4 separate regions of the Homo sapiens genome follow, and all the other regions are linked to region 1. Evidence: promoter capture Hi-C in 16 types of primary human blood cells and fetal thymus (Javierre and others, 2016). All regions are on one chromosome and are shown on one strand. Each heading gives the region's core, a stretch centred on a gene start or on the middle of the fragment in contact. The rest is flanking DNA. Distances are from core to core; before and after follow the strand shown. Region 1 holds the start of TMEM179B (transmembrane protein 179B). Region 2 holds the start of FADS1 (fatty acid desaturase 1). Region 3 holds the start of BEST1 (bestrophin 1). Region 4 holds the start of FTH1 (ferritin heavy chain 1).

Evidence for each region. Contacts are between HindIII fragments. The CHiCAGO score rates a contact against its expected background, and 5 or more counts as called.
Region 2: a contact is called between the fragment with the promoter of FADS1 here and the fragment with the promoter of TMEM179B in region 1, in 6 of 17 cell types (monocytes, M0 macrophages, fetal thymus and 3 more). The highest score is 7.5, in monocytes.
Region 3: the fragment with the promoter of BEST1 here is called in contact with the fragment with the promoter of TMEM179B in region 1 in 2 of 17 cell types (monocytes and M0 macrophages); the score reaches 8.2 in monocytes.
Region 4: the fragment with the promoter of FTH1 here is called in contact with the fragment with the promoter of TMEM179B in region 1 in 4 of 17 cell types (fetal thymus, total CD8 T cells, monocytes and 1 more); the score reaches 10.8 in fetal thymus.

The regions. Positions count from the first base shown.
Region 1 is chr11:62,783,241-62,789,424 of GRCh38, forward strand. TMEM179B (transmembrane protein 179B) reads left to right here and starts at 4,162. Exons shown (of 5, transcript NM_199337.3): 1 at 4,162-4,287; 2 at 5,783-5,970; 3 at 6,052-6,184. The coding sequence starts at 4,192. TAF6L (TATA-box binding protein associated factor 6 like) reads left to right here. Exons shown (of 11, transcript NM_006473.4): 10 at 3,020-3,148; 11 at 3,277-4,102. The coding sequence ends at 4,056. It also overlaps a transcript of TMEM223 not described here. RefSeq lists an enhancer at 3,233-3,432 and a silencer at 3,683-3,792. The HindIII fragment of the contact is 7,473 bases long and covers 1,558-6,184 here.
Region 2 is chr11:61,815,439-61,821,473 of GRCh38, forward strand. It overlaps FADS1 (fatty acid desaturase 1), which reads right to left and starts at 1,565. Exons shown (of 12, transcript NM_013402.7): 1 at 1,117-1,565. The coding sequence starts at 1,491. LOC124902680 (a long non-coding RNA gene) reads left to right here and starts at 2,582. Exons shown (of 2, transcript XR_007062696.1): 1 at 2,582-6,030. It also overlaps a transcript of FADS2 not described here. RefSeq lists an enhancer at 1-766 and silencers at 1,287-1,486, 1,827-1,926. The HindIII fragment of the contact is 2,548 bases long and covers 584-3,131 here.
Region 3 is chr11:61,945,470-61,951,653 of GRCh38, forward strand. BEST1 (bestrophin 1) reads left to right here and starts at 4,882. Exons shown (of 11, transcript NM_004183.4): 1 at 4,882-4,958. It also overlaps a transcript of RAB3IL1 not described here. RefSeq lists a silencer at 580-743. The HindIII fragment of the contact is 17,311 bases long and covers 1-6,184 here.
Region 4 is chr11:61,966,169-61,972,352 of GRCh38, forward strand. FTH1 (ferritin heavy chain 1) reads right to left here and starts at 1,466. Exons shown (of 4, transcript NM_002032.3): 1 at 1,144-1,466. The coding sequence starts at 1,257. LOC399900 (a long non-coding RNA gene) reads left to right here and starts at 1,126. Exons shown (of 1, transcript NR_187560.1): 1 at 1,126-2,711. RefSeq lists silencers at 993-1,192, 1,463-1,812, enhancers at 2,333-2,402, 2,523-2,572, 5,709-6,003, 5,807-5,951 and cis regulatory regions at 5,438-6,184, 5,443-5,954, 5,874-5,884. The HindIII fragment of the contact is 7,079 bases long and covers 1-3,565 here.

The DNA of each region.
Region 1 (6,184 bases), core at 2,912-5,411:
GGGAGGCTGAGGTGGGCGGATCACAAGGTCAGGAGATCGAAACCATCCTGGCTAACACGGTGAAACCCCATCTCTACTAAAAATACAAACAATTAGCCTGGTGTGGTGGCGGGCGCCTGTAGTCCCAGCTACTCGGGAGGCTGAGGCAGGAGAATGGCGTGAACCCGGGAGGCGGAGCTTGCAGTGAGCCGAGATTGCGCCACTACACTGCAGCCTGGGCGACAGAGCGAGACTCTGTCTCAAAAAAAAAAAAAAGTTAGGTGTTGCCACTGTGATAATATTAAGAGGGAGGATCTTTTTTTTTTTTTTTTGAGACGGAGTTTTGCTCTTGTCGCCCAGGCTAGAGTACAGTGGCATGATCTCAGCTCACTGCAACCTCTCCCTCTTGGATTTAAGCAATTCTTCCACCTCACCCTCCCGAGTAGCTGGGATTACAGGCACGTGCCACCATGCCCACCTAACTTGTATTTTTAGTAGAGAGGCAGTTTCATCATGTTAGCCAGGCTGGTCTCAAACTCCTAGCCTCAAGTGGTCTGCCTGCCTCGGCTTCCCATAGTGCTGGGATTATAGGCATGAGCCACCACGCCCAGCCGATTATGTGGTTTAATATGACAAGTTCTATTCTGTTGATATGCTAGGTGTATTAATGGATTCTTCTTCTGAACCACTTTTGTATACCTGGAATAAGTTCTATTTGTTGCTTTTGAGATTTTTGTTTTTTTGAGATGGAATCTTGCCAAGATGGCGCCACTACACTCCAGCCCGGGCGACAGAGTCTCACACTGTCGCCCGGGCTGGAGTGCAGTGGCGTGATCTCGGCTCACTGCAACCTCCACCTCCCGGGTTCAAGTGATTCTCCTGCCTCAGCCTCCTGAGTAGCTGGGACTTACAGGCACGCACCACCAGGGCCAGTTAATTTTTGTATTTTTAGTAGAGACGGGGTTTCACAATGTTGGCCAGGATGGTCTCAATCTCTGGACCTCGTGTTCCGCCCGCCTCGGCTTCCCAAAGTGCTGGGATTACAGGCGTGAGCCACCGGTGCCTGGCCATATATATATATTCTTAATTTTTTTTTTTTTTTTGAGACGGAGTCTCGCTCTGACACCCAGGCTGGAGTCCAGTGGCGCCATCTTGGCTAACTGCAACCTCCGCCTCCCGGGTTCACGCCATTCTCCTGCCTCAGCCTCCCGAGAGTAGCTGGGACTACAGGCGCCCGCCACCATGCCCGGCTAATTTTTTGTATTTTTAGTAGAGACAGCGTTTCACCGTGTTAGCCAGGATGGTCTCGATCTCCTGGCCTCATGATCCGCCCGCCTTGGCCTCCCAAAGTGTTGGGATTACAGGTGTGAGCCACCGTGCCTGGCCTATATTCTTAATTTTATCATCAATTTATATTGGATTTTTATCAGATGGTTTTTCTGCATCTTTTGAAATGATCCGAAGGCTTTTCAGCTTTTGTTTTCCAATGTTATTACAGATTTCCTGATAGTAAACAATCTTTATAGTTCCATGATACACTAAACTATGTCATGGGATAGTCGTAAAGAAAAAACCCAAAGCTTTTATTGGACTGTAATGCATTTTAATTTACTTGTGGGTCTGCTAAATTTTAAAAGGGTTTATATTCAGGAGTGAAATTAAACATGTTTCCTCTCATGTACTGTCCTTGTCTGGTTTTAGAATCAGGGTTATACTGGCCTTACAGAATGATGTGGGGAGTATTTCTTTTTTATATTTACTTTAATAAGATTTAGATCATCTTTTTCTTTTCTTTTTTTATTTAATAGAGATGAGGTCTTCCTACATTGCCCAGGCTGGTCTCAAACTCCTTGGTTTAAGTGATCCTTTGGCCTTCCCAAAGTGCTGGGATTACAAGCGTGAGGCACTGCACCTCGCCTATCTTTTTCTTGAGTGTCTGTAGACTTTTGTAAATTCTGGCATGGTATTTTCTTTCCTTTTTTTTTTTTTCGAGACAGAGTCTCACACTGTCACCCAGGCTGGAGTGCAATGGCGCGACCTCGGCTCACTGCAACCTCTGCCTCCTGGGTTCAAGCGATTCTCCTGCTTCAGCCTCCCGAGTAGCTGGGATTACAGGCGCTCACCACCATACCTGGCTAATTTTTTGTATTTTTAGTAGAGACGGGGTTTCACTGTGCTGGCCAGGGCTCGTCTCGAACTCCTGACCTCCTGATCCGCCTGCCTTGGCCTCCCAAAGTGCTGGGATTACAGGCGTGAGCCACAGCGCCCGGCTGGTATTTTCCTTATAGGCCCAGCTGGTATTTTCCTTATAGTTAATTCTTTTTTTTTTTTTTGAGACGGAGTCTCACTTTGCTTCCCAGGGTGGAGTGCGGTGGTGTGATCTCGGCTCACTGCAACCTCTGCCCCCCGAGTTCAAGTGATTCTCCTGCCTCAGCCTCCCAAGTAGTTGAGATTACAGGCAACTGCTACTGCGCCCAGCTAATTTTTGTATTTTTAGTAGAGATGGGGTTTCACCATCTTGGCCAAGCTGGTCTTGAACTCCTGACCTCAGGTGATCCACTGGCCTCGGCCTCCCAAAGTGCTGGGATTACAGGCGTGAGCCACAGCGCCTGTCCAATCACAGGATTTTAAATTGTATAATCAGAGTCCAAGTCTCTGGTTGGTTGTTTTTATGCAGATTGTTTGAACTGAGTCTCAGTTTACATCTAAGTGAAGCCAGTACTTGCCTGATTGTATAGGGTAGCAGTATGCAAACTAAATTTTGGAGTTGTCAGTAATGAGCATTATTTAGCACACAGGGCAGTGATATTGGGTATATTTTTTATTGTCTCCCTTTGTACCTTATCTTTATTCCCAATGCCTAGCTTAGGTATACAGTAGGTTCCAAATAAATATATGGTTGAATATGCCAATCAGGGAATTTAGGAGGATTGAGCCCTGTCTAGGATCAGAGATAAAGGTAGGTCTTTCATGGGAAAGGGTCCTTGAGAGGGAATAAGTATCAAAGACATGCTAACTGTATTCCTTCTCTTCCTTCCAGGCAGTAGAACGAGTCCTGTACCCACACCTGTCCACCTACTGGACAAACTTGCAGGCTGTGCTGGATGATTATTCAGTATCTAATGCCCAGGTCAAAGCAGATGGACACAAAGTCTATGGAGCCATTCTGGTGAGTACCGTCCCCTTCCAGCCTCCCTTCCCTGCATGAGCTTAGCAGCCAAGCAGGCTTACTTTGGAATATTTGATGGGCCCAGGTTCCTCGAATTTTTTGCCTATCTTAGTCCTTGGCTCTTACAGGTGGCGGTAGAGCGACTGCTGAAGATGAAGGCCCAGGCAGCAGAGCCCAACAGGGGTGGCCCAGGTGGCAGGGGGTGCCGGCGCCTGGACGACCTGCCATGGGACAGCCTTCTCTTTCAAGAGTCGTCCTCCGGGGGCGGTGCAGAACCCAGCTTTGGGTCCGGCCTCCCGCTGCCGCCAGGGGGCGCGGGGCCGGAGGACCCTTCTCTTTCGGTGACCCTGGCCGACATCTACCGGGAGCTCTACGCCTTCTTCGGTGACAGCTTGGCCACACGCTTTGGCACCGGCCAGCCTGCACCCACGGCTCCGCGGCCGCCCGGGGACAAGAAGGAGCCGGCGGCAGCCCCGGACTCGGTGCGGAAGATGCCGCAGCTGACGGCAAGCGCCATAGTCAGCCCGCACGGCGACGAGAGCCCCCGGGGCAGCGGCGGAGGCGGCCCCGCGTCGGCCTCTGGGCCCGCCGCCTCTGAGAGCAGGCCCTTGCCGCGCGTGCATCGGGCGCGCGGGGCACCCCGGCAGCAGGGCCCCGGGACCGGCACCCGCGACGTTTTCCAGAAGAGCCGTTTCGCCCCGCGCGGCGCCCCGCACTTTCGTTTCATCATAGCCGGGCGGCAGGCTGGGAGGCGCTGCCGCGGGCGCCTTTTCCAGACTGCCTTCCCCGCGCCGTACGGGCCTAGCCCGGCCTCGCGCTACGTGCAGAAACTGCCCATGATCGGCCGTACCAGCCGCCCCGCCCGCCGGTGGGCGCTCTCGGACTACTCGCTGTACTTGCCGCTCTGAGTCAGTGGCCCCTTCGTTCCTTGTAAATAAATCCCGCCCCCGGAAATGACGTCTCCACCTTCGTGGGTCGCGCCGGATAAGGTGGGCTTTGGGCGGGGTGCTGCTGCAGCGGCGCTTCCTGGTGGTCAGGGCGCCATGGCGCTGTCCTGGCTGCAGCGCGTCGAGCTTGCGCTCTTTGCTGCCGCCTTCCTGTGCGGGGCCGTGGCGGCCGCGGCGATGACTCGGACCCAGGTGCGGCTGCGGGGCGGGGTCAGGTAGGCGGGGGAGCTGGCCGGTCTGGACATGGCGAGGCCACTTTCGCTTTCCGACCGGGCTTGCTGCTGCTCGGAGCCGGTGGACCTGGTGAGGCACGGCTGGCGCCGGCCTGTACCTGAAATGCAGCGAGGCTAATCGCGCTTTGTGGCTCCTCCTGGCCAGGTCATACTTCGAAGTTGTCCCCTCGCCAAAGGGACGGGTCAGTAGCGTCTTAAAGCACTAGGTGGAGTCGGGTTTCGTGGCTCCTGCTGCACAGCCTTACTGTGGTTCCGAAACAGAAGTCAGTGCAGAACCTGCGTCCATCCGTTAAATCAGAAGCCATTTGTGCTGAGCTTTGTCGAGAAATAAAGCATAGTGTAGTGGAGATGATCAAGCTGCCACATGATTGTAGCACAGTGTGTTAAATGACAAAATGAGAGATGGAGAAAACGCTGACGTAAAGGTAGAAGCCAATAATTTACATCGTTTACCCCAGCCAGGTAATCTGGTTAATAAACATGGGTTCATTTAATGCCTATAAAGTAGGCACTAGTGTGCCTATTTTACACCATGAGAAAACCTCAGAGATCCGCCGGGCGCGGTGACTCACGCCTGTAATCCCAGCACTTTGGGAGGCTGAGGCAGGCGGATCACTTGAGGTCAGGAGTTCGAGACCAGCCTGGCCAACATGGCAAAACTCTGTCTCTACTAAAAATACAAAAATTAGCCGGGTGTGGTGGCTCATGCCTGTAATCCCAGCTACTTCGGAGGCTGAGGCAGGAGAATCGCTTGAACCTGGGAGGCGGAGGTTGCAGTGAGTCGAGATCGTGCCATTGCACTCCAGCCTGGGTGACGAGCGAATCTCCATCGCAAAAACAAAAACAAAAACACTGGCCGGGCCTGGTGGCTCACGCCTGTAATCCCAGCACTTTGGGAGGCCGTGGCAGGCGGATCACGAGGTCAGGAGATCAAGACCATCCTGGCCAACACGGTGAAACCCTGTCTCTACTAAAAATACAAACAATTAGCCAGGCATGGTGGCGGGTGCCTGTAGTCCCAGCTACTCAGGAGGCTGAGGCAGGAGAATGGCATGAACCCAGAAGGCAGAGCGTGCAGTGAGCCGAGATGGCGCCACTGCACTCCAGCAAAAAAAAAAAAAAAAAGCACCTCACAGATAGTTATTTGTTGAAGGATATACAAGGCCTGGGTTTACTCTAAGGTTTCTGCACAGAGACCATAACTTGTGAGGCTTCTCTGAAGCTCATTGCATTCTATATTCATTGCCTATTTTCTGATCCTTCTGGCCACTGCCGGTGTGATTCCCCAGCAGGCCCTCTCCATCAATATCCCTGTCCCAGAAATAGGAATTGACGGTGCACAAATAACTTCCTGGAATGCAGGACCATTCCTAAGTTATCACTAACACCCTACCAAGAGACTGTATCTAGAGACATTAACCTGAAATCTAGGACTCAGCAGCTTCTCTCCACAGGGCTCCTTCAGTGGTAGATGTCCCCTGTATGGTGTGGCCACCCTGAATGGCTCCTCCCTGGCCTTATCCCGTCCCTCAGCACCATCCCTGTGCTACTTTGTAGCTGGGGCCTCTGGCCTCTTGGCCCTCTACTGCCTCCTGCTTTTGCTCTTCTGGATCTACAGCAGCTGCATCGAGGACTCCCACAGGTGACTGCCTAACCCTGAGGGCCAGGGGCTGAGGTAGGATGAGCCTCACCTCCACCACAAGGCTTGTTCTCTCCCTTTCAGAGGTGCTATAGGGCTGCGCATTGCACTGGCCATCTCAGCTATAGCCGTCTTCCTGGTCTTGGTGTCTGCCTGTATCCTTCGATTTGGCACCAGGTCTCTCTGCAACTCCATCATCTCCTTGAACACTACAATT
Region 2 (6,035 bases), core at 315-2,814, 970 kb before region 1:
TGCTGCGACGTTATGGGAACCTGGTGACCCGCGGCACACTCTGGGACGCCAGGGTAGTGGATAGGGACAGTGGAGGGCATCACGCTGCAGGGCACGGGATCAGAGGGGGATGCAAGGGGAGGGGACGCCATTCTGGCCGCCAAGGGGGAAACGCGGTGAAGGGAACGCCCCGACTTTCGAGTCCCTAGGACTGAGTCCCCAGGACTCCAACCCAGCAGAGAGGCGCCGGGGCCTTAGCTCTGAGGGCTGTGGTCTAGAAAGGGAAGCAGCAGGCCTGGGGCTGGGGCGCGCGCCGACCCCGCAGTGAGACCAAGGGAAGAAGGGACAGGACCCCGCGAAGGGCCTACCGCCCCAGAGCGTAAACAGCGGTCCGCTCCGCGGAATAGCTGAAGACCTCGCTGGCCTGCGGCTCAGTGGCCTCCCCGGCGATTCGAGAACAGCTCTGGGGGTCCTCGCTAAGTGTATGCCATTCCCAATCCCTTATGTACGCCAGCGGCCGCTTGCCCTCCCCGGCCAGCGCTGTCCCTTCCGCGTCCTCCAGTCTTCACACGACGCAGGGGTCCCCAAGGCAGCGGTCTCCCCAAGCTTCCCGTTTCAGCCCCATCCTCGAGAATGGGCTCCTTTCCTGCTCCCTCTCCGCTCCTGCTGGCGAGTGGAGACCGGCACCTAGGTCCAGACGCGGCTGCGCTGCCTCTCCTAGCCATCGAGACAGGATGTGACTCCCTCCCCTGGCCACTGACCCCCTCCCTCCCCAGGCGGCCTGCATCCTTGCTCTCCTCCCTCCTAGCCTACCCAGCTCGGGGTTCTGTCCCCGCCCAGAGACCTGAGGCTCGGGGCTGCAGATGGAATGCACGGCAGGGAGGCGGGACCCTTTGTTTGTGTGTGCGTGTTGTTGGCCTCCATCCCCACTCCCCAGACTCCACTTCTCCAGGCCTCTCTCCCGCCTTTTCATCCCGCATCCGCAGGACACCCAATCACCGGGCAACAGGTATGATCAGGCGCCTCCGGGCTTTCCTCCGAATTAGTCGGTGTTTGGCTCGGAGTGCGTAACTCTGTCTCCCCTGCACTCAGCCTCCGGTCCCGCCCTCTCCTGTGCCCCCGCCTGGCTGCGCTCACCGTGGCATCCTGCCCGGCGTAGTGGCTGATGACCCGGGAGCCCCCTGGATGCCGGCGGGTGAACTCGCTGATGTTGTACACCTTACGGTCGATCACTAGCCACCGCTCCTCGCACCCTGAGCGCTGGGCCACCTCGTCCCAGGTGAAGTAGCGCGGGGTAGGTCCCTGAGCCGCGGTCTCGGCGGCCACCGGGTCGGGGGCCATAGCTGGCCTGGCGACGCCGCGCGCCGGGCCAGCAGGGGCTGTCAGGCGCGTGCTCGGGGTCCGCGGGCTCCAGGAGTGGATTTGCTGGCGCGCGCCCAGAGCCAGCCGCCTGCGCGCCGGGTTTTCAGCACCGCAGGGCAGACCGGCGGGCCTCGCAGCGCGCGTTCCCATTGGCCGAGCCTCGTGGCGCGGGGAGCGAGATCCCGTCCCCCGGTGGGTCTTGGGCAACTCACAGCTGGGCTGCCAACACGCGCCCCCTCGCGGGCTCCCTAAAGGCGTCGCCGCCGGATTCGACTTCCTGACGTCAGGCGGGCATCGCGGCGTTGGCTCCCAGGGGGCGCCGCGGTAGGAACAGCGGTTCTAGTGCAGGCCCTGGGTGCGGGGCCGCGCTGCAGGAGTGAATGGACTGAGGGGCCAGGGCTGCGGGGTGGCCGCAGGAAGGGTGGGCGGGGCCGGGGTTGAGGTTTTTCCGTGCACGAGGCTGCCCGGGCGGTCGCGGACATCATCTTTAGGCTGTGGATGCCTTGGCCGGGGTCTCCAGACGCTGACCCTCCAGGGTTGGAAACTACTGCCTGCTTGCCACGTCGTGCCGCCAATTGTGCTGCCCGAAGTAGCAGCCTGAGAGCCCTTGAAAGTTGCAGTTATCTTGTGAACAGCATATTTACGGTCTCTTGGGCTTGGTGGTGGTTGGGGGAGGGCTGTTAATGCTTTAATTTGTTCAATGAAACATTTAAAATGCCCCACAATTTTTATAACCCTGTTTGCCTCTTTTTGTTTTTATTTTTATTGTATTTTGGAAAAATTCACTGGGATCCTTGAGTGATGATCCTAGCGTCTCCTGACCCTTAGGTGTTTCACCTGAAAAGCCTGGGTCTTCAAGCTGAGGCATTTCTGTTCTAGCCTGGAGGCGCCTAGGAGCCCTGGGAGACTTTTTAAGCAGAGAGATTTGGCATTTAGATCTCTGGGTTTTAGAGGAGTGGGAACGCACCTAAAAGTGGGGTTGCCAGTTACAAAGCTGTTGCAGTCCTGAAGAGACCCAGAGTTTAGGTCCAAAATTTTATTTATTCAACAAACACTTTATAAAGCACTTACTGTGTGCCAGGCACTGTTCTTAGCGTTTTGCAAACCTTAACTCATTTAATTCTCCTAACAACCCTATGAGGTTGGAACAATTAACCTAATTTACAGTGAAGAAACTGAGCCCGGGGGAGGTTATTTTGTCACACAGCTTGTAAGTGGAGGGCTGAGATTTGACCCTGGCCTGTGCTCTGAACTCTCAGGCTCTGCCATATTTCTCATTACACTGGTATTTGGGCACTTCAAAGGGAAAGGAAACATAACTGTCCCAAGCACTGAGCTAGATTCTGAGCACGTAGGAGTCAGGAGAGGGTGATACAGAATAGACTAGGTGAAATATGGCTAGATTTCTGGTAGAAAAGGATTAATTCATTCCATCCAAATTCTTCATTTTATAGATAAGAAAATTGAGGTTCGAAATGGGGAAGGGGCTTACCAAGTTCCCATAGGGAAGTTTAGATGTCCTGACTTCCAGGTAAGATGCCAGGCTATTGGACCCTGCTCAGGAATGATGGTCCACACAGCTGCACCTCTGTACAGCCAATATTCCTTTTTTAAAAACCTTGCCCAACAACTTGGCAGTGTCTAATGCGAGCTACAAAACATTTTCTATTCTTTGATCAAGCAGTTTCACTCTTGGTAAAGTAGGGGAGACTGTGCAAAGATGCAGAAATAGCCAATTTAATAGCAAAAACTGGAAATAAACCCGAGTCCTGACAATAAGAAAATCGCCAAGCTTATTGGGATCTGTTAACACAATGAAGAATTAAAGAATGATTTTAAATGGCTAGAATGTGAACTATATTGATAGATATAGAATCCTTCCCCGTGAAATAAGCAGAACCCAAAGTAGTATGGGTTCGCTGATTACAACTATATAAGAAATTCATGGGTATTAAATAACAGAAGAGAGGTCCTTTACATAAACCATTTTTCCTATGTGACTGTGCAGTGGGATAAAAGCTCTCATACTGCTGGTAGAAGTGTAAGTTGATTAAACTGGAAAAAATAGTTTGACAACTTATATAGAAATTTAAGATTTTTTTTTTTTTTGAGATGGAGTCTCGCTCTGTCGCCCAGGCTGGAGTGCAGTGGCCTGATCTCAGCTTGCTGCAAGCTCCACCTCCCAGGTTCATGGCATTCTCCTGCCTTAGCCTCCCAAGTAGCTGGGACTACAGGTGCCCGCCACCACGCCCAGCTAATTTTGTTTTTGTATTTTTAGTAGAGTTGGGGTTTCACCATGTTAGCCAGGATGGCTTTGATCTCCTGACCTCGTGATCTGCCCGCCTCGGCCTCCCAAAGTGCTGGGATTACAGGCGTGAGCCACCGCACCCGGCCAGAATTTAGGAATGTTTTGAATACTGAAGAGATGAAAAAAAATAGAAAAATAAAAATGTTCCCAATAATTCCATGTTTAGGAATATAGCCTAAGGAAATGTTCTTAGAAAAATATTTATAGGTCAGGCGGGGTGCCTCACGCCTATAATCCTAGCACTTTGGGAGGTCGAGGCAGGCGGATTGCCTGAGCTCAGGAGTTCAAGACCAGCCTGAACAAAAGAAATCGGCTGGGCGTGGCGGCGTGCGCCTGTAGTCCCAGCTACTCGGGAGGCTGAGGCAGGAGAATTGCTTGAATCCGGGAGGCAGAGGTTGCAGTGAGCCGAGATTGTGCCACTGCACTCCAGCCTGGGCAACAAAGCAAGATTCTATATCCACACACAAAAAAAGAAAACTATTTATAAACAAAAAATATTCATTAAAGCAGTATCTATGATAGCGGGAAATGGAAACACTCTAAATGCCCATCAGTGAAATATTTTGCAGACATTGAAAATAATGTCATCTTTCCTTTAATACAGAATCAAGGAAAAATGTTTTATGTAAATCTTTTATTTTATTATACTTTAAGTTTTAAGGTACATATGCACAACATGGAGGTTTGTTACATATGTATACATGTGCCATGTTGGTGTGCTGCACCCATTAACTCGTCATTTAGCATTAGGTATATCTCCTAATGCTATCCCTCCCCCCTCCCCCGAATCAAGGAAAATTAAATAATATGATGTAAGTTTGGCTACAGAGATAACTGTTCTATAAAAAGACTAGGTTGGGCGCGGTGGCTCACACCTGTAATCCCAGCACTTTGGGAGGCAGAGGCAGGTGGACCACCTGAGGCCAGGAGCTCGAGACCCACCTGGCCAACATGGTGAAACTCTGTCTCTACTAAAATACAAAAATTAGTGCCTGTAATCCCAGCTACTTGGGAGGCTGAGTCAGGAGAATCACCTGGGCAACATGGTGAGACTGCACCTCAGAAAAAACCAAAAAACCCATACCACTTGTAAGATAATTCCTTGATCAACCCCACCTACCTAGAACCATTCATTAAGTGTTTTATTTAACATTTGTGGGGTGTCTCCTCTTTGTATTCCCAGCACCTACTTTGGTAAGGTGCTGGGAATACAAAGTTCAGTACTATATGGGTCATGCCTAGTCATGTCTACTGGAGGAGAGAGACAAGTGAGTCACGGATTATAGGTCAGTAGGATAGATGCAAATTAAATTCATCTTACTCAGGATTTAAACAGCTTATATGACATGACTTTGCATTCATGTTTCTTTGCTTTTCATGTGTTCTTAGGTCAGTGTCATGTATTTTGCTACCTCCCTAACGAGCTTATAATCCAGGATAGGGCTGTGGATTCTGTTTATACTACCAATACATATTCAGAGCACCTTGGTTTGGAGTTCTAGGTGGAATCCCACATAAATTTGCTGAATTGGCCGGGCGTGGCAGCTCATGCCTGTAATCCCTGCACTTTGGGAGGGTGAGGAGGGCGGATCACCTGAGGTCAGGAGCTCCAGACCCACTTGGCCAACACGGTGAAACCCTGTCTCTACTAAAATACAAAAATTAGCCGGGTGTGGTGGGGGGTGCCTGTAATCCCAGCTACTTTGTGGGGGTGAGGCAGGAGAATCGCTTGAACCCAGGAGGCAAAGGTTGCAGTGAGCCGAGATTGCACCACTGCACTCCAGCCTGGGTGACAGAGCCAGACTCTGTCTCTAAATAAATAAATAAATAAAAAATTTGCTGAATCAACTGATGATTTCAACCTGAAAAAATACAGGTGAGTAAGCCTATAGGCCACTAGGCAAATGTCGTGTTGCCCTCTCATCTCCTTACCCACCTACACAGGTGGTCACACAGACTGCAATAAACCCATATCCAGGTCAACTAAAGGAAACCTTTGCCTTGCAGGCCCTGTTGATCCTAAGGGAACTTGCCTCATCCTGGATATGAATCACATACTTAATTTTAGGTTGCCACTTGTGAATACTAACTGTTCTGGCCAAATTAATCCTCAAGGAACAGAACGAAATGAGCTTAAGACCCTAATGCCAGGCCAGGCACAGTGACTCGTGCCTATAATCCCAGTGCTTTGGGAGGCTGAGGTGGGAGGATTACTTGAGCTCAGGAGTTGGAGACCAGCCTAGACAACATAGTGAGACCCCTTCCTAACTGTCCCACCATTTTCTCTCTAAAGAAAAGAAAAAAAAAGACCTTAATGCCGATTGTAATGAAGCCATAATTGAATAACCTAACTGCCAGTGGCTGTTGGAATAACCTGAATTGTGAG
Region 3 (6,184 bases), core at 3,632-6,131, 840 kb before region 1:
CTACTGTGACTTCAGGCAAGTCATTTTCCTTCTCTGTGCCTCAGTTTCTTTGTCTGCAAAATGAGCAGCTGGACTAGAAACTTACCATTCTTTCACAGCACGTCAAACTCAACATGCCCATTTGAGCTGAAGACACTGAGGCTACTCACTGGGTGTGAACCTTTGACAGCATCCAGGCCCTGCACAGTTGTCTAGGAGAAGCCTGACCCATGATGTCCTTTCCGCTACCCACCTGCCACGAGCCCCAGTTCTGAGCTGGAGGGGTGGGGGTGGGTGGAAGGTGGATAGTGGTCAGTGCCTCACCTGGCCGACTGCAGCCTGGCAGAGTCCATGGGGGACCTCGCAGCACAGTGGATCCTCTTGCCTTGTGTCTCTAGTTGGTCCAGCTCTGGTCTATTCCATGCTATTCCGTTGTCATGGGCAGGACTGGGTTTGATGAAGTTGGACCTAGGTGTATCCCAGCCTCTCCTGGTTTCTGTCGTCTTTCTGTGGTGCCCAGGGCTTATGTTTCTATCTCTTTGAATGTTGAGTTTACTCCGTCCTTCAGGGATCAGGGCTGCCTGAGCTCAGGGTGGAGGTGCTGTTGTCTGTCTGGCTTCCGGGCCCTGGACTGGCAGTGTCCCCCAGCACCCCTGTCCAGCTATGCCAAGCCCCCTCCTTTTCTTTCTTGGCCTCTGCCCTATTTGTTCTGTGACTGGCCCAAGAGAGGGGTGTGGGCTGGCAGGTGTCCCACATAAAGCCTGGAGGCAGCATCCAGGCCTGGCTGACTTACCCCGGGGCCCCCTGCCTACTGCCCCCAGCCAAGCTGGGTCTCCTTCTTCCTGCCCAGCTGAGGCAGGGCCTAGAAGGGCACCGAGGCAGGCCCTCTGTGATGCTCCTGTTGCTATGGTAATTCTAGATGAGAAGGCCATAGCATTCTGTGTCTGGCACCCCCGCGCATCTCCCCAGCTCTGCCCTGCTGCCCCAAGAGATGGCTCTCTGCTGGGGAGCTCGAGAGCTTGGAATCTGCTGCAGTCAAAGTTTCTTCCATGCGGCCAGGCACAGTGGCTCATGCCTGCAATCCTAGCACTTTGGGAGGCCGAGGCGGGTGAATTACTTGAGGTCAGGAGTTCAAGACCAACCTGGCCAACATGGTGAAACCCCATCTCTACTAAAAATACAATACTTAGCCGGAAATCACTTGAACCCAGGAGGCAGATGTTGCAGTGAGCCAAGATCATGCCACTGCACTCCAGCCTGGGTAACAAAGCGAGACTCCGTCTCAAAAAAAAAAAAAAAGTATCTTTCATGCAGGCCCCATCCTTTGGACCTCCCTTCAACCCCAAGAGAGACCACTACCCTAGCAGGTAAGACTCTACCTCTCAGAAACTGACCTTTACTGTAGAGCTGATAGTGGGAAAGGGCTCAGGATCCAAAATCAAAAGACCTAGATCCTAGTCTCAAGCCATTTATAGCTGTGTGACCTTGGACAAGGCAGGCCTTGAGCTTCAGTGTCCTCCTTTGTAAAATGTGGATAAACATGCGATACTGAATCATCCTTCAGGAATAGCTCTATGACTTTCCGTAGGTTGTTCCCCTGATGTGTAATGCTCTTCCATTCTTCTCAGCTCCATGAACTCCTACTCATGCTTCAAGACCCAACCGAAATGCCCCATTGTCTGTAAAAATTTCCCTGACCTCTGTGCACTTGGCACAGATCTTAGGCCTTGCCATTCTGTGTTAGAGTTGTTATTTAAGTGTTTCCAAATTTTTTGACTATGAATACGTACAGGCAGGAATCAGATTAGGCTCAGTTCTGGAAGGAGAAATGGTTTGGCGAATATTTTCTTTGCGGAACGGAAAGCAGAAGAGGGCGACCTTGACTGGGTTGGGTGCCATCTCTGCAGGGGTCAATCCTGGGACTCTTGTTCCAGGCATGGCTTGGGTCAATCAGCACTCATGACTTTGCTGTGTGCCTGAGCCGTGCCTGGCTAACTGGGGACATTTTCATAGCTGAGACCCAGTAGGAGAGACCATGACTTGTGCCAGGGTGTGCCTGTCTCAGCTCTGGGGCAGGGCCAGGAGCAGCTGCTCATGGGATGTCTCTGGGGACATGCTGGGGCCTCTGGGAGGGGAAGGGAGACTGGCCATGCACTGTCTATGGTCCTGGTGGTACTCCTGGGATATTGCCAAGGAGCCTGCGGTTCAGGGAACAGGGAGGAGGGACTCTAGTGTCTCCAACTCCCTCTCATGGCTCTATGGCTGCTGGTCGGGGTCAGGGAGATGAAGCAGTGCCAGCTCCGTGGTCTGCACTGATCCTGACCAGTGAACCAGGCTTCCCCAGCCAGAGCCAGCTAGTCAAGCACGCTCTCTAGTGGCCACCACAGGGAAGGCAAGAACTTGTCTCCACAAAGGCAGGATTTTCATTTATTCCTTCAGAGAGTACAGAATGAGCATCAATGTTCCAGGCATGGTGCCAGGCATGTGTGTTAACTTTAGTTAAAACATACTTATTGGCCGAGTGTGGCGGCTCACTCCTGTAATCCCACCACTTTGGGAGGCCTAGGTGGGAGGACTGCTTGAACTTAGAGCTCAATACCAGCCTGGGTAATGTAGTGAGACCCTATCTCTATAAAAAAAAAAAAAATAGCTGGGTGTGGTGGTGTGCGTCTGTAGTCCCAGCGACTTGGGAGGCTGAGATGGGAGGATTGCTTGAGCCTGGGAAGTGGAGGTTGCAATGAGCCAAAATCACACCCATTGCACTCCAGCCTGGGTGACCTTGTCTCAAAAATATAGTTATATATTTACTTATATATTTATATGTATAAATATATGTGTACATACAAATATATTTGTAATATTATAGACATATTAATACATATTTACATATGTTAATATATAAATATATATAATATATATTTATCATCTTCTAAATGGAAAGCTCTTGAGTTTCAGGATGTGTTGGTTGGGAAGGGAATACAGGATAGGGAAATAATCCATTAAGCAATGACTCAGCACAGGCCATAAAATCAGAATCACCTGGAGAACTTGAACAATCCCAACACCTGGGGTCCATCCAGACCAATCAAATCAGAATTCGTAGGGGTCAGGCACAGGCACCAGTGGTTTGGAGAGTTGACGGACACATGTCCCATCCATCATTCTCATTCGGCTGCCAAGGTAGGCATCGTTGTCCCATTTTGCATATGAGGAGACTGAGGCTGAAGTGAACCTGCTTCTTTCCCCATATCAGTTGAGGACAGCGATGGGGCAGCGGGGAGGCAGTAAATACTCCTACAAGGCTGCCTCTAAAGAGAGTCTTATAATAACAACAGCTTTATTGTTTGCCATGATTAGAAAAGTATTCAAGGTCATTGCGAAATAGTGTTTTTTTTTCTAGGCAGATAATTATATAAAGGCAAAAATGGTGTGTGGGGGTGGGGGACAAGGGGAGGGAGAGCATTAGGACAAATACCTAATGCACGCAAGGCTTAAAACCTAGATGATGGGTTGACAGGTGCAGCAAACCACCATGGCACACGTATACCTATGTAACAAACCTGCACATCATGTATACCTATGTAACAAACCTGTACATTCTGCACACGTATCCCAGAACTTAAAGTGAAAAAAAAAGTGGTGTGTAGAAAAATCACCTGCAATCTCAGCATAGTTAACGCTTAGTACATTTCAGAGAGAGAGGGTGACAGGAAAGGGAGGATGAGAGTGGGTTTAAGACACAAGGTCATATTATAAAATCAGGGCTTCTGGAAGTTTAGTCCCAAAACCACACATCTCATAATCCCCTGCAGTGCTTGATTAAAATGCAACATCCCTAAGGCCACAGACTCAGACTCTGGAGAAAGATCCAGAAAACTGCCCGTTTAATAAACATTTGGGCGATTCTTACGGCCTCTAAAGACCAAGAACCACTGCTGCCTAGAGCTCTGCTCTCTTCATTGAACAATACAAGAGGAGTGTGTAGGTAGACACCCACCACTTCCAACAGCTTAGGAGAGCCCTTGAGTATGGATTGATGTATTAAAATTTATTGAATCACATGCTGAGATTTTCACCAGCTGCCCGTGGGGATCTGGGCATTTATTCCCATATTGCACTGGCTGGCTGGAAGCCAGCAGCATAAACTCCAGGGCTGTTCTGTCAACCCCCACCAGACTCACCCCCCTCCACCAGCCCCGGCAGGCTTCTCCTTCCATCTCTCTGAAGCAACTTACTGATGGGCCCTGCCAGCCAATCACAGCCAGAATAACGTATGATGTCACCAGCAGCCAATCAGAGCTCCTCGTCAGCATATGCAGAATTCTGTCATTTTACTAGGGTGATGAAATTCCCAAGCAACACCATCCTTTTCAGATAAGGGCACTGAGGCTGAGAGAGGAGCTGAAACCTACCCGGGGTCACCACACACAGGTGGCAAGGCTGGGACCAGAAACCAGGACTGTTGACTGCAGCCCGGTATTCATTCTTTCCATAGCCCACAGGGCTGTCAAAGACCCCAGGGCCTAGTCAGAGGCTCCTCCTTCCTGGAGAGTTCCTGGCACAGAAGTTGAAGCTCAGCACAGCCCCCTAACCCCCAACTCTCTCTGCAAGGCCTCAGGGGTCAGAACACTGGTGGAGCAGATCCTTTAGCCTCTGGATTTTAGGGCCATGGTAGAGGGGGTGTTGCCCTAAATTCCAGCCCTGGTCTCAGCCCAACACCCTCCAAGAAGAAATTAGAGGGGCCATGGCCAGGCTGTGCTAGCCGTTGCTTCTGAGCAGATTACAAGAAGGGACTAAGACAAGGACTCCTTTGTGGAGGTCCTGGCTTAGGGAGTCAAGTGACGGCGGCTCAGCACTCACGTGGGCAGTGCCAGCCTCTAAGAGTGGGCAGGGGCACTGGCCACAGAGTCCCAGGGAGTCCCACCAGCCTAGTCGCCAGACCTTCTGTGGGATCATCGGACCCACCTGGAACCCCACCTGTGAGTACAAGGTGCCCCAGGTGGACTGGGCTGGGGCTTTGAGGCCTTCAGGGTTGGATGGCCATCTTGCGTATTTGTGTGGGATATGCACACACAGGCAGCACATGCGCAGGTGTGTGGGCACCTGTGTGTCTGTGCAAATGCCCTGAGGTGGGAATGAGCTTGGTGTGCATCAGGCACAGCCAGCCAGTGTGGCTGCAGCAAAACACACAGGGAAAGAATGGAGGGGGCATCAATCACTGCTTCAGTAAATTTTTATTGAGCGCCTTCTACGAGAACACAAGAGGAGCTTCCATTCTGAGGAGGAAACAGGCAGGAAACAGGCAGATATCCTGTATAATTTCAAGTAGTGATAAGTGCTCTCTAGAAATATCAAGCAAGGTGAGGAGACACAGAGCACCGGTGGCAGTGGGGCTCTATTTCCAGGTTGGATGGTTGGGAACATCCTTTCTAAAGGGAACCTGGAGTGGGAAGGAACCATGCAGGTATCTCAGGAAGAGCTTCCTCCAGGCAGGAAGATCAGCAGGTGGAAAGGCCCTGGAGCCACCATTCAGTAAACATCATTTGAGCATCTCTACCAGCTAGGTTCCATTATGGGAATGGGAATATGGTGGTGGACAGGGCTGCCTGGTCCCTTCCATACTTCTCACACTAGGGTGGTTGAGAGAGCTTGGGAGCTAACGAACAAGATGGGCTGAGAACACTGCCTAGCCCAGAGGACCTGAGCTTAGTGTGTAGACATTGCTGCTGTTACTGCCTTTGTCATTGTATTATTTATTTATTTATTTATTTATTTTTAGACAGAGTTTTGCTCTTCTTACCCAGGCTGGAGTGCAATGGCGTGATCTCAGCTCACTGCAACCTCCACCTCCTGGGTTCAAGCGATTCTCCTGCCTCAGCCTCCTGAGTAGCTGGGATTACAGGCACCCGCACCACGCCTGGATAATTTTTTTGTATTTTTAGTAGAGACAGGGTTTCACCATGTTGGCCAGGCTGGTCTCGAACTCCTGACCTTAGGTGATCCACCTGCCTCGACTTCCCAAAGTGCTGGGATTATAGGCATGAGCCACTGCGCCCAGTGATTATAGAAAGTTAAAGGCACATGGCAATGCACACGCCTATCTACGTCTTCCCTGCCAAAGCAAAGGGCAGCCTCTGGGCTCACTTTCTTGCGTTTCTACTTCCAAAAGGCAGTCAGAACTGGCAGGGCCTTGGAGACCACTTCA
Region 4 (6,184 bases), core at 216-2,715, 820 kb before region 1:
GAGCCTGAGGTAAGAGAATCACTTGAACCCAGGAGGCGGAGGCTGCAGTGAGCCGAGATCGCGCCACTGCACTCCAGCCTGGGCGACAGAGCGAGACTCTGTCTCTCACACACACACACAAATTAAAAACCCCCATGCAAGGTGGCAAATGTGGACAGTATGTTGATGTAAACATACTTTTATAATAGTTATATCACAAAAATTTGATTTTCAGTTTTAGACATTTGATGTAGTCAAGTGTTTGTGAAAGGCAGTGACAGTCACAGAAATACAGGCCTGTTTTCAAATCCATTTGGAACACATTTATTCTTGGGATAGTTTGGACAATCACAAGGCAATTCTAAGGAAGACTCCCACGACACTGCCTAAGACCAAGATTTGGGAAAACTGATTCCACTGATCACTGAAAAATTTCTTGCCCAGTAACTGTCGGTGGACTTTATCCAAGAACTGGGGGTTCAATTAGTAGGCCAAACTCCACACCTCTTACAGTAAGATACATAAAAGATAAATTAGGTCCCCTAGGCGCAAGGTCAGGTGACACTTCGGTGACTGCAGAAGGGGCGATTCCTAGAGATATGCTTCAAAGCAAGTGGGACTTAGAGATAAGCAGAGCCGAGAGGTGGATACGGCTGCTCGAGAGGGATCTACCCACAAGATAAGCCACCTCCCGCCAGCCCCCAAGGTTTGCTATTCGACACCGTTACCCAGCAGCTCCGCCACACACAGGCGGACGGGAGCTGGATACCTAAGCAAAAAACGCTGGCATTTAGGGCCAAATGCCGGAGGCAGAGGAAAAGATGGGAAAGCAAAACTCCACCTTCCTAACCGCAGGATTGATCACACAGGCTGGCAGTCTTGCAACCCCAGGATTTCAGGACACCAAGGTCTCCTTAAAAAAGAAGGGTGTGCAGAGGCGGCCCTGGCCTAGGAGGGAGCATTCTCAGGGTACAGCCGAGAAGAACCAGCTGCCCCGACTTTCTGCGCCAGAGAAGTCCTCGGAAACCTCGAGCAGCCTCCATTTTCCAGAAGGGCGCAGGGAGGCGGGAGAGCCCGCGGGTGGCCACACCCCCGGCCCGCCCCAGCGCGCGCCCCGGGAACCGCGCCCGGCCCCCGCCACCGCTTAGGCCCGCCCGCGCTCACCATGGACAGGTAAACGTAGGAGGCGTAGAGCTCCAGGTTGATCTGGCGGTTGATGGCGGCCTCTGAGTCCTGGTGGTAGTTCTGGCGCACCTGCGAGGTGGACGCGGTCGTCATGGCGGCGACTAAGGAGAGGCGGCGGCGGCGGCGGTGGCTGCGCGGCGCTGGAGCGGCGGCGGGGGCCTTGGGGCAGTCCGAGGGTGCGGTGAAGAGGTGACGGAGGGCTGGCTATGGGCGGCCGGCCGGGGTGGGGAACGAGCGCCGGGTTCCGTCCAAGCACTGTTGAAGCAGGAAACCCCGACGACTCTCGGCGAAGAACGTCTGGCCCTGCGGGTCGCTTGTGGTCTCTTATAGCCGCGTCGGCGTCAGGCCCGCCCCGGCCAATCAGCGCCGCCCGCCCCGAGCCCGCTCCTTCCGGTGGGCGCGGGACCCCGCCCCTGCTGTGGGGGAGGGGCGGCCGCTGGAGGCCCTCGCGCGCTCTGGCGGAGCTCGGGAGCGGGGACCGGTAGCCGACTGCCTCTGGGACAGCGGTGGCGTCTCTGTGCCCGTTTAGTGGAGTTGGAGGGAAGCTGCGAGGAGGCGCAGGAAGTCCACCTCAGAACCCCCCCCCCGGTCTAGGGGCGCCCGGGCGTTGGAACCGGCGGGGGAAGGGTGCGGGGGCGCATGGGGTGATCCTGATTCGGCTCCCATTTTCCCGAACGGGCACCCTGAGGCTCCTGGCCCGGGGCATGGTGTTAGAAATCATAGCTGCGGAGAAGCCCTTGTGACACCTTGCTGCAGATTGGGAAGCTGCAGATGATTGGGAAGGTGGAAGGTGGAGACGCGGTCCTTAGGTGGTCGAGCGCATTTTCTCTTCCTCAGAGTCCAGGAAGGAGCGCGATGGAGAAGTGGGGCGCACGGCGGGTTTCGGGTCCGCCCCTGCCCTTCCGACTCCTCCGACCACGTCTGCCTTTGGCTGAAAGCAAATATGGCTCCGTGTGCGGTTTCTGCAACAAAGGCTGGGCGGGCCGGGTTTCCCTAGGGATGGGGACCGCCTCCCCGGGGAGTCGTGGGGGTGAGCCACCGGGGCCTCCGAGAGAATCGCTGGTGTCGCTTCGCACCCAAGGGACACATCTCGGGTTAGAAAGGAGAAACGACGTGGATCTAAAGGCGAAGCCCATGCTGAGGACTTTTCAAAATGGCCTCTTATCGGCCCCACTCACAGGAGCTTCAGGCTTCGGTGGCCCTGTAGGACAACCCTGGGGTGTCATTGGAGAGAAGCTGACGGGGTTAATGGCGGGTGACAGGTGAAAGAGACCCCGGAGGGGTGGGGCCGGTGTGTGTGGCTAAGCTGAGTCCCAGGCACAGGGTGGATGTGAATTTATGGGTGGCAGAGCTAGAGCTAGGCCCTGCCCTTACCTAGGTCCTGGCTTCGAGGTCCACTGTTCTGTCGCGTCTTTTGACGCATCGGTGGAAGAACTGAATTTCAGGATGCTCACAAACCTGCAGCTGGAAGCTAGACTTCCAAACCTTAGTTTAAAAAAGCAACTCTACTGAAATACTAAAATAAATTGCCGACGGAATTAGGGTGATTTCTTGTTCACGGTTTCATTTAAAAATGCACCTATGTTATTTACAGGAAAAACGTTTTAGTGGTGCTAGAGCTACAAGAATAAGGTAAACAGAAGGATGCTGCTAGACCAGGAGTACCTTACCCAGTCTGGGATAGGAGGAGGTCGGGGAAGCCCTCCCTAAGCAAGACACGTGAGCTGAGTTTGAAGAAAAAGTTAAAAGGAAGGTGAAGTGCGGGAGAGAAACAGGGAAGGGAATTTGGAGCAGAGTGAACAGCATATGCAAAGGTGTGGAAATGTGGAAATGCATGGCCTGTTAAAGCTGCCTTAAGAAAATATGTTGCCTGGGGCTGGGCGCGGTGGCTCATGCCTGTAATCCCAGCATTTTGGGAGGCCGAGGCGGGCGGATCACTTGAGGTCGGAGTTGGAGATCAGCCTGGCTAACTAACATGGCTAAACCCTTCTCTACTGAAAATACAAAAATTAGCCGGGCGTGGTGGCATGCGCCTGTAATCCTAGCTATTCTGGAGGCTGAGGCAGGAGAATCGCTTGAACCTGGGAGGCGGAGGTTGCAGTGAGCCGAGATCGCGCCTTTGCACTCCAGCCTGGAAGACAAAACAAAACTCCGTCTCAAAAAAAAAAAAAAAAAAGAAAGAAAGAAAGAATGTTGGCCTGGAAAGTACAGTTTATGTTGGGGGATGCTGGTTAGGGTGGAGAATAGGGGCAAGATCGGGCAGGGTTGTGTTCCATAAAAAGAGGTTAAACTTGATCCTAGAGACAGCATAGAGACACCTCATTAGCTTTGTTTTTAGAAACCTTACACTGGGAATCTCTTAGGATAAGAGTATAGCAAAGTCACCATATATAGGATCCAAAGCTTTCCTTTATAACAGTAACCACCAGTTAGAAAATATGGGGAAAAAAGAATGGAAAAAAAAATGTTTTTCACTTACATTGACAACAAAAGCTTAAAGTACCTTGGAATAAAGTTAACAAGAAATATATAGAAAAAACTATAAATGCTTACTGCTGGACAAAAAATTCAAAAAGCCTAGCATAAATGAAGAGGTACCATATTCCCAAATGGTCGGTCAATCTTCATTCTGTAAAGATGTCAGTTTCCCCAAATAAGCATAAATTCACTGCAATTTCCATAAGAGGCAGTTTTTTGTTTTTGTTTTTCCTCAGCCATTACTGTCTCTGGGACAGTATTTTTTTTTTTTTTGAAACTTCACAAAATGATTCTAAAGTTCATTTGGAGGAGTCAGTGTGTTGATAGATTTGCATTTGGTGCTATAATAAAGGTACAGTAAAGTGCTATAAGCAGTATGGTACTGGCACAGGAAGAGATGACTAGATTAATGCAACAAAATAGTCCTGCCCCCCTATTATGAGAACTTGGTATATGCTAAACTGTTGTGTCACATTAGGGAAGAAAGAATGGGTTTAACAAATTATGTTGAAACAATTGACAGTCATGTGGAGAAAAGTGACTCACTCAGTATTTAAAAATACATTCCAGATAGATTAAAAATCCAAGCCTTAAAAAAAGTATAAAGTTTTGAGAAGAATATATACAAGATTATTTTTATAATTTTGGGGTAGGGAATGTTCTTCTGAGGCTGTCAGAAGCCGTAAAAGTACAGTTGGCAGGTTTGCCTATTTAAAAATGAAAAGCTGTAAGACAAAAGATGTTGTAAACAAGGTTAAAACAGAGATGACAAATTGGGATGATATTTGTAGCTCATGTAAGTGATGAAGATTAGGAACTATAATATATATTTGTATGTTTAATGAAGTACTATGTATGTGTCACACCTTTTTTTTTGAGATGGAGTTTTGCCCTTGTTGCCCAGGCTGGAGTGCAGTGGCTTGATCTCGGCTCACTGCAACCTCCACCTCCCGGGTTCAAGAGATCCTCCTGCCACAGCCTCCCAAGTAGCTGGGACTACAGGTGCCTACCACCACACCTGGCTGATTTTTGTGTTTTTAATAGAGACGGGGTTTCACCATGTTGGCCAGGCTGGTCTCGAACTCCTGACCTCAAGTGATCCACCTGCCTCGGCCTCCCAAAGTGCTGGGATTACAGGCATGACCCACCGCACCTGGCCTTATGAGACCCTTTTGATTGCCTGCGCTGGTGCTGTAGATGGTAAGCTCCTGGAAGGCAGGCATTGTTTCTGTCTTGTCTCTGCACTCCCAGCTTTTTGCAAATTGCTTGTTACTTGGTGCCCAGTATCTGTTGCATGAACAGATGGATTCATGATTGAATGTGGAGGATGGATGAGAGTGAGGCTAGAGGGCTGGGCACCAGTCAGGAGGCAGCAGCCTTAGTTATTAGTGAGCAGAGAAGATAGAACACAGATTTGACAGATCTGGAGAAGATCAAATGAACAGACTGATTGGCGAAAGTCGGGGGCCAGGGGTGGGCAGTGTGTAAGAGATCTCTCAGCTTTATGATTTGGTAGGCCTGGCTGCTGCTGCCATTCCCTGAGCCAAGGAGCACAGGAGGAAATGAAGGTTTCGGGGAAAGCCCTTGGGGAAGGCCTGCTTGGTTTTGGACTAGATGTGCTGAGTTTCCAGGCTTCCGGGATGTCCAGGGGGACAAAGCCAGCATGAAGCTCTCGGACCCACTGGAGGGAAGTCGGTCTGCTGCAGGGAGTAGGTTTCCTGAATCAGTGTTGGCTCCATGCTTGGCTAAACATGCATGTAGCTGCAGTGAACATCGCAGCAAGACTGAGGGACAGCTTGTGCTGTAGAAGGTCATTGGGAGGAGGCTGGCTGGGAACAATGGAAGGGAAATCTATTGGTGGGGGAGTGTGAGTGTGTGTGTGTGTTTATGATTGTTTATATGATTGCTTGTGTCCGTTCCCTACTTTCTGGTAACTTGAGGTGTCAGAACTGCAATGTCTAAGCCTTTAGATTCTTCCGAAGCTGTGGCCTGGTCTTGGGACCTTTGTTGACCAGGGTTCTACCTCCCCCACCCTCCAGCTCAGCTCCTCGTGACTTGGAGGCAGCAGAGAGTTTGGCTGGTCTCCCAGGACAGCCGCCTCCCAGGGCCAGGAGTGGCGGGAGGGACCTCAGATGAGAGAAGAGCCAAGCCGGTGGTTTCTGGAGGTTCAGCACATCCTGGAGCAGGAGGGGGCGGTGGTGGGGGTTGCGGTGGAGAGTTGCTGTCCCACCGTGACTCAGCACTCTGCTAGGCTGGGCTTGGGCTCAAAAAGTGCTTTGTCATGGAGGAGAAGAGCAGTCATAAGACCTGGAGGGCTGTGGCTTCACTGTGGAGGGAGGGAGGGAGGGAGGGAGGGAGGGAGGGAGAGTGTCCCCCTCCCCCCATTTCCTAATGGGACAAAGTCCAGAGGCCGGACTGGGAACAAAGGGGTCTGAGATCACTCAGGGGGGCCTCTGATGGTGTTTTTGCTGGCAAGCCTAGGTGTCACTTTTCCTACCTATCCCTCGCTCAGTGCCTTCCCGCCGCATGGGGAATTCTCAAT